3 separate regions of the Homo sapiens genome follow, and all the other regions are linked to region 3. The links are contacts of gene promoters, found by promoter capture Hi-C in blood cells and fetal thymus (Javierre and others, 2016). All regions are on one chromosome and are shown on one strand. Each heading gives the region's core, a stretch centred on a gene start or on the middle of the fragment in contact. The rest is flanking DNA. Distances are from core to core; before and after follow the strand shown.

Region 1 (2,500 bases), core at 1-2,500, 670 kb before region 3:
GGGAGTGAAGTGGCACAAAAGGAATAAGCTGGGGAGAAGAGGTTGCAGCAGACTTCTGTGAGCAACCAGGAAGCAATTCAAGTCAAGAAATAATTGCTAGCCCAGGCATGGTGGTTCATGCCTGTAATCCCAGCATTTTGGGAGCCGAGGCAGGCCGATCACTGGAGCCCAGGAGTTTGAATAGCCTGGCCAACATGATGAAACCCTGTCTCTACCAAAAAATACAAAAAATTAGCCAGGCATGGTAGCACGTGCCTGTAGTCCCAGCAGCTACTCAAGAGACTGAGTGGTGAGGATCACTTGAACCCAAGAGGTGGAGGCTGCAGTGAGCCAAGATTGTGCCAAGGCACACCAGCCTGGGCAATACAGTGAGATCCCATATAAAAAAAAAAAAAAAGAAAGAATTGCTAATTGCCAATGCATAACCACAGAACCTGAGGGAAACATAGAAGAATAAAAGAGATGTAGTCCCTGCCCTCAGGAAATTCAGAGTAGGACAAAAGAAACAGAAATACCCATTACAAAACCACTTTAATACAAGTTCCAGTGACAAAAAGGACATCTCAGGAGACAGTGATCGAGGAGCTCATGGAGTTATAAACAGGAATTAAAGATGAGATCATTAAATGGCTGAAGGATGGGTGAAAAAGGGGACCAACGGGTAGGAGAGGAGGAGAGGACTCCACAAGGGAGATGACAGGGATTGGAGGGAAATGCAGGGGTGTAAGTGCTGGCAAACACAAGCTTGATGTGGAGCCAGGCAGGCAGAGGGTGTAGACTCCCCAGGATCACCAAGGACGGCTTTTTATTCATCTCTCACCACTACATTTGAAAGACATTTATTCTTATTACCGAAATGATGGAATAGGCATGTGCTTTGGACTCAGAAAATCTTGGGTTTGCACCCTAGCTCTACTACTATGTACCAGCTATGTGACCTTAGACAACTTACCTACCCTCTCTGAGCCTACCTTTTCTTCCTCATCTACAGAACTGGGAAATGATAGCTATTTCTAAATACTGTCACGAGGATTAAATGATGTGTGTAAAAGTGCTTAACAGAATGCCTAGCACATAGTAGATACTCAACAGGGTTAGTTTCCCTTCCCTTTTCTGAAGGCACTGGCTACATCTGCAGACTTTGGGGGCAGAATGCTTGGTTAAACTCCACTCTGCCTCTCATGCCGGCTGTGTGATAAGTGGGCATGTTGCATTCCAACAGAGGCATTCCCAAGTGACAGGTGAGTGTGGACATGTTACAGCTTAAGCCTGAGCACACCACTGTTTGCAGCAGGAATAGGAACTATTGGCAAAATCACTTGGTAGGATTCCATTCACACTTCTTATGTTAAGGAGAAATGTTTGCCAGTTAATCTCACAGTAACAATTTGAGAACGATGAGAAGAAATCTTGAAGCAACCACTCAGAACAATTGGGGAGGGAGAGGGGGCATTCAATAGGGTTTTATTTACACTTGTATGGTCAGATCTGCTGCAATCTGCGCCCGTGGTGACACCTCACAGCACTCCCTATTGGTTTACACTTTTAGAACTTAATCACATACATTTGGGCTTACAGTGTTATCTCTTCTATAACAGATCATCTGCTTCCTTTTCATTTATCTTATCTCCCAAGCCAATATCCAATTTTCTTGAAGGCAAAAGCTGAGTATATGCTCTTTCTATCCCAGGTCATACCTAGCACATTCCTGAACTTGCTGTAGAAAGGAGAAAAAGAGAAAGGAAGGAAAGAAAGGAGAAGCTTGTATTCGTGTTTGAAATCTGAAATAAATAGATATTTGATAATGAAATGGCCACACTGAGTAATACTCACACGGCCCATTACAGTCTAACATTTGGTGTCAAGTGCTGTGTTGTGGCACAGTCTGGGCCATCTTCATGTCAATCTCAAATAATCAAGACTGTATCTTGGAAACATGCTAGAAAAACCCTTTAAGGTTCTGCAGCCATTACTTGTTCTAAATTATTTTAAAGAGATACAATAAATCTTTTTGCTCATATTTTATATGTTTTTTAAAATAGTATATGAATTCATTTTCTTGCAAAAGATTTGAAAAATAGGGAAATATAAAAGTAAACCATAGAAGTTGCCTTCACACTTTCATCTCACTCCCACCCCCCTGACAAGCCCTGTTAACTATTTATTGTGTTTCCCTGAAGTAATCTAACTCACTAGGTTCAAGTTAGATCCATGCATTTGTTTCCTGTGGGTGCTGTAACAAATCATCATAAATTCAATGGCTTAAAGCAACAGAAAAGTATTCCCTCACAGTTCTAGAGGGCAGAAGTCCAAAATCAGTATCACTGGGCCAAAATCAAGGTGTTAGCAGGGCCATTCTCCCTCCAGAGGCTCCAAAGGAGAATCCATTCATTGCCCCTTCGGCCACTGGCAGCTGCCAACAATCCTTGGTTTGTGGCCACATCACTCCCCTCTCTGCCTCCATGGTCACATTGCCTTCCCCTCTCCTGCATGTGTCAGA
Region 2 (2,724 bases), core at 42-2,541, 820 kb after region 3:
AATCCCACACAAGCGCTCAGGGAGATATATACATGGATATTTGGAGAAAGATTGTTAAAACAAAACAATGAAAACAACCTGATGTTCATCAACAATGCATACCGAAACTGCGGCACCTTCATATAATTAAGTGTTACAACGGGGGTGGGGGTAAAGCGAGGGGAAATGAACAACTGCTACGTGCATCAACAAGGATGAAGCTCACAAAATGTTAGAAAAAAATCTACTTGTAGACTAATAAATACAATATTTTATTTCTAATATGAAGCTTAAAAGTAAACAAAATATATATTTCTCTTACACATGCACACATATATATAATAAAAAGCATAAATATATGTATGAGAATAAAAAATACAAAATTCAGAACAGTGAGTTCTTCTGGAACAGAGAGCACACTTGGGGAAGGATACACAGAAAGTTATCTACTGCACTGATGACTTCTATTTCTTAAGCTAGGTGGGCATTGATTGTATTCTTCTTTATATCATTTTGTATGTCTTAAATATTTTATAATACATTTTAAAATGTTATTTTGAGGCGTCAAAGAATTTCAGAGCTACAAAGACCTTAGAAATCATCTAGTTCAACAACCTCGTTTTAAACACAATGACAAATAACTAAAATCGGGAAAGAGGAGGTACAACTGATGCCACAGAAACACAAAGGATTATAAAGGCTATTATTAACACTTATATACCAGCAAATTATATAACCTAGAAACAACAGATAAATTCTTAGAAACAGGTTATATAAGGTTAAATTCTTATAACCTACCCAGACTCAATCATGACGAAGTAGAAAATCTGAACAGACCTATAATTAGTAAGGAGATTGAGTCAGTAATCAAAAATCTCCCAACAAAGAAAAGCCCAAAACAAGATGGCTTCATGGGAGAATTCTACCAAACATTCAAAGAAGAATTAACACCAATCCTTGTCAAACTCGTCCAAAATATTGAAGAAGAGGGAACACTTCCAAACTGATGTTATGAGGCCAGCATTACCCTAATACCAAAGCCAGACAAGGATACTACCAGAAAAAAAACTACAGGCCAGTATCTCTGATGGGTATTGATGTAAAAACTCACAAGAAAATACTAGAGAATGGCATACAATAGCACATTTAAAGAATTATACATTTATAATCACGTGGGATTTATCTGTGGGATGCAAGGATAGTTCAACATAAAAAATTCATAAATATAATACACCACATCAAAAGAACAGAGGACAAAAATGGCATGATTATCTCAGTTAATCCAGAAAAAACATTTCACAAAATTTAACAACTTTCATGATAAAAACATTCAACACACTAGTAATAGAAGAAAACTACTTCAACATAATAAAGTCATATATGAAAACCCCACAGCTAACATCATACTCAATGATGGATACATAGAGAACTCCTACAACTCAGTAACAAAAACCAAATAACTCAATTAAAAAAATGATCAAAGGACTTCAGCAGACATTTATCTAAAGAAAATAAACAAATGACCAACAGCATATTCACAGATGCTCAACATCACTAATCATTAGGAAAATGCAAAGCAAAACCAGAGTGAGATATTACCTCACCCCCATTAGGATGGCCACCATAAAAAAAAACAGGAAAACAAATGTTGATGAGGATGTAGAGTAATTGGAACCCTTGTTCCAATTGTAACAGGAGAAGAAACAGGCTTCAGCAGTGCAATCCTGAAGACAAAACACTGTTGGTGGGATTGTAAAATGGTGCAGCATGATGGAAAACAGTATAGAGATTACTTGAAAAATTAAAAATAGAATTGCCATATGATTCAGCAATCCCACTTCTGAGAATTTTTACAAAAGAACTGAAAACAGGATCTCGAAGAGACATTTGCACACCCATATTCATTGTAGCATTCTTCATAATTGCCAAGATGTGGAAGCAACCTAAAAGCCATCGGTAGAATGAATAGATAAAGAAAATGTGGCATATACACAAAATGGAATATCATTCAGCTTTTAAAAAGAAGGAAGTCCTAGTACATGCTACAACAAGGTTCATACCTTAAAGACATTAGGTTAAATGAAATAAGCCAATCACAAAAAAAGACAAATATTGCCTGATTCCACTTCTGTAAAGTGTCTAAAGTAATCAAACTCATAGAAACAGAAAGTCAAATGGTGGTTGCCAGAGGCTGGGGACACAGGGAACCAGGAGCTATTCAATGGGTATAGGGTTTCAGTCATGCCGAATGAACTTTCTAGAGCTCTGTTTGTTATACAACAATGTGCATGGCATATAGTTAACAATACTGTACACTAGAAAATGGTTAAGAGGGTAAGCTTATGTGTTTTCTGGCTGCAATTTAGACAAAAAACACGATGAAAGCAAGGGCCAGAGTGACGGGATGACATGCCCACCATCAGGAAGTTGGCCAAATCCAGATCATTGGCATTTTTCCTGCCTCTTGTCACCTCCTCTTGTCCTGATTTCTGTTTTATTTGTAACAGCATTTCAGAAATGTGAGATGGGCTTTAGAGATGATTGCTCTAGAAGAGAATCAATTCTTTGTTGAACCGTGATGTCTCCACTTTAAATGTTTACCTGTATCTTTGTGGTTTGCTCCTTACACTTCAACTGGCTTTTAAATTGAGTTTGTGGTTGTATTGTAAATAATTATACATTAATATTGCACTCGGCTTTTGCTGCCTTTCAAGCACAGAGCTCAAGGTCCTTCTGAGGCAGTTA
Region 3 (3,041 bases), core at 168-2,667:
TTTCTTTGATTACAAAGCTATCAATGATTTTTATAAATAATCAGAAGTGTTCTCGGTTTACACTGCACAAATTATCCTATTTAGATTACTTTGGTTCTTGCTCACCAACAATCTTTTCTTTCTTACACTTCGCTGGTTTTCTCCAAATTCCATCTCACAAAGGGGTCACTTTTTCTAGCAACTGATGTAATTCCATAAGCCGTGGGGAGCTGGTTATAACTTAAAACTGTTAAACAAATTACTTTCCAGTCACCTATATTGTCAACACATATTCTGCCTTACTCTCCCTGTACATAAGCACTGTGATTTCCCTGTTCTCTTTCTTTATTCCACTGGTAGTTCTTTTAAGATCCTCCAGCATTTCATAACACACATCTCTACACATAATAAAGCGTTTCTTGGCCGGGTGCAGTGGCTTGCGCCTGTAATCCCAGCACTTTGGGAGGCCGAGGCGGGCGGATCACTTGAGGTCAGAGTTCGTGACCAGCCAGGCCAATATGGTGAAACCCCGTCTCTACTTAAAAAACACAAAAATTAGCCGGGCTTGGTGGCAGGCGCCTGTAATCTCAGCTACTTGGGAGTCTGAGGCAGAAGAATCGCTTGAACCCAGGAGGCGGAGGTTGCAATGAGCCGAGATCGCGCCATTGCACTTCAGCCTGGGCGAAGAGGGAACCGCTCCGTCTCAATAAATAAACAAATAAATATAAAGCAAAGCGTATCTTTAAGATAACATGCTAAATTTCCAAATTAACTTCGTTTGCTCTTACGATCTACTCAAACACTAACAGGAGAAATGAACAAATTTGGGACTTGGATCTGGAGATGCTTCTCATATGGCCTTAGCCATAAGCACTTGAGAGCGGCGAGAAGCTCATTAAGGTTGAGGTCTTTGCCTCTTTCTGCTTCAACTGGGAGCTTGCTCTTCACTCTTGCCCTCTCAAGTATCTACAATGAAGAAAGTGAGGAAAGGAAAAAACCTGAAAAGAAGCTGCTTGCTGTTCTCCAAAAATGCAGCCAACAGTGCCATAAATCTCAGCATATCCTCGCCGGGACCAACGCTGGGGATAAGTAGCAAATTAGGAAGTCAGGCGAGAGTCCTTTAGGTTGAGAAAGCAGGGTCACTATCACTCACTTGGGGCAGACACCATAAGCAGCTCGGAAAGGTCCGGGTACATGCGGTCCTCTTGCAACTGACGGTCGATGAGCCGTCCAGCATTTTCCAGAGCTTCCTGCAGGGCTGCGGCAGATGTAGAGGCCGGCATCGCCGCGCCCAACAAAGAAGACGGCATCTCGGAAATCGTAGACACCAGGGTCCAGAAAAAGTCAAAAACCAAGGAGAAACAAGAAAAGATCCAAGAAGTTAGCTTAGATCCGCCGCCTAGGGCGCGCGCGCCAAACGAGCGCCTTGGCGCCTCGACATGACGCACTTCCGCTTCATCCGGTGGGGAACTGGAAGACGCCGTTCTGGCCTGGGAAGAGGAAGCTGTTGGGAGGGGGCTAGAGGTTGTGGGTGGAGCTAGGAGGCTGCTGATGCTTTCGAGGGGGTTGAGGGTTTTGGGGTGTGGCAGGGTAAAATTAGGGTAGGTTATTTAGGGAAGGGAGGGAGGGAAAGGAAGGGAAGGATAAAGGGGAGGGAACAGGGAAGGAGAGGGGCGGGATGGGGTTGGATAGGGTGAGGAGGAAGGAGGGAGGAGGGATACGGTAGGTGGGAGCTAGGTCGTGTGTCTGGCCTAGGAGGTTGGTCAGGTTCCGTTGGTTTAAGCGCGTGCTCGACCTGAGTCTTGGAACTTCCCGCGTCGGTATCCGCTAACTGCAGCTATATGAGTTCGCGCATGAGCGCGCAGTTTGGTTCTCCAAGTAACTGCTTTTGTGAGAGTAGTTAAGAATTGGTAGGTCGCTGTCACAGAGAGGGATATAAACCAGTATCTCACTATATTCTTCGCGGGCTTCAGTGTAAATTAGAATTCATCAGGCTTTTCCATTTGCGTGTCGCTGTCTTTTGACTTTGTTGCCCCTTAGTATAAAATACGTGTTTAAGAAGAAGCTGAGTGCAGGTGGACCGCTGCCGTGCTTTTTATCGTGGCAGAGATAGCAGACAGTTCTAATTCATCTTTCCATTCCCAGCGCTAGTATAGGAACTCGTATGAGATAGGAACCCAAGAGTTCATACAATCCTAAGAAACTGAATACTTGCCTTGTGCCTGGTGCTGGGACTATCAAACTAACACAGTGTTTCCTGTCCTTAAGGTGCTTCAAGCAGAGACAAAGGGCTTCATTATAATTTTTCTATTTGGATAGGTATAAACTATAGCAGGATAGGAGAAAGCAGAGAGGTAAAAGAGGCTTCATTTACTACAGAAGGCAACCTGAGTGGGTAAATCAAAGCACTTTTTAGAAAGCTGCTCTTATTTAGAATCTCACCTAAGAAAGCTTCCAGTTATGTTCTTCAGAATTTCACAAATCAATAACTGAATTACTCTAAATTGGTCTTTTGCTATTTGAATTACATTTTTACTCCCTCAAAGACTTGACTACATTTCTGAAAATTGAAAGTTCTTTGATGTTACCAATCTACACTTAAAATTTGACATAGCCAATATACCAAGAAAAACTGGATTTTTTATCATTGGTATATAGATAGGCAGTTGGGTCTCTAGCTGTGAGTTTACTTTATTTGGTAGACCATAGATTGAAAAGTGGTGGTCTGGCACCGAGTTTGTTTTTAATTTGAGACAAAATACACAAAGTTTTCAACTCCATAAATTGGAAGATTCAACAACGTTGCTGTGATATTCCTGCATAGAAGTAAAGCTCCCCAAAGTGTAATCTAACTAACTTAATTCATTGGCATATTGCCTATGCTTTCCCACTACAACTGCTAAACCGAGTAATTTCTACAAAAGACTGCAAAGCCTTAAATACGGACTCTGGCACTTTACAGGAAAAGTTTGCTGACCTCTTCCCTAGAACAGATAATTATGAATTTTTTTGGTCTTAGGACCCCCTTGATACCCTTAAAAATTATTCAGGATTCCAGAGAG

The links. Contacts are between HindIII fragments. The CHiCAGO score rates a contact against its expected background, and 5 or more counts as called.
Region 1: a contact is called between a fragment that was not itself captured here and the fragment with the promoter of NUP155 in region 3, in 1 of 17 cell types (total B cells). The highest score is 6.2, in total B cells.
Region 2: a contact is called between a fragment that was not itself captured here and the fragment with the promoter of NUP155 in region 3, in 1 of 17 cell types (erythroblasts). The highest score is 5.1, in erythroblasts.

Annotation. Positions count from the first base shown.
Region 1 is chr5:36,700,367-36,702,866 of GRCh38, forward strand. The region is part of intron 1 of SLC1A3-AS1 (SLC1A3 antisense RNA 1); the gene reads right to left. Among named protein-coding and RNA genes, the nearest start is that of SLC1A3-AS1, 24 kb to the right of the region's middle. The HindIII fragment of the contact is 1,017 bases long and covers 743-1,759 here.
Region 2 is chr5:38,185,522-38,188,245 of GRCh38, forward strand. No RefSeq gene overlaps it. Among named protein-coding and RNA genes, the nearest start is that of LINC02119, 38 kb to the left of the region's middle. The HindIII fragment of the contact is 2,050 bases long and covers 267-2,316 here.
Region 3 is chr5:37,369,689-37,372,729 of GRCh38, forward strand. It overlaps NUP155 (nucleoporin 155), which reads right to left and starts at 1,418. Exons shown (of 35, transcript NM_153485.3): 1 at 1,133-1,418. The coding sequence starts at 1,289. RefSeq lists enhancers at 1,091-1,200, 1,321-1,410. The HindIII fragment of the contact is 10,669 bases long and covers 1-2,428 here.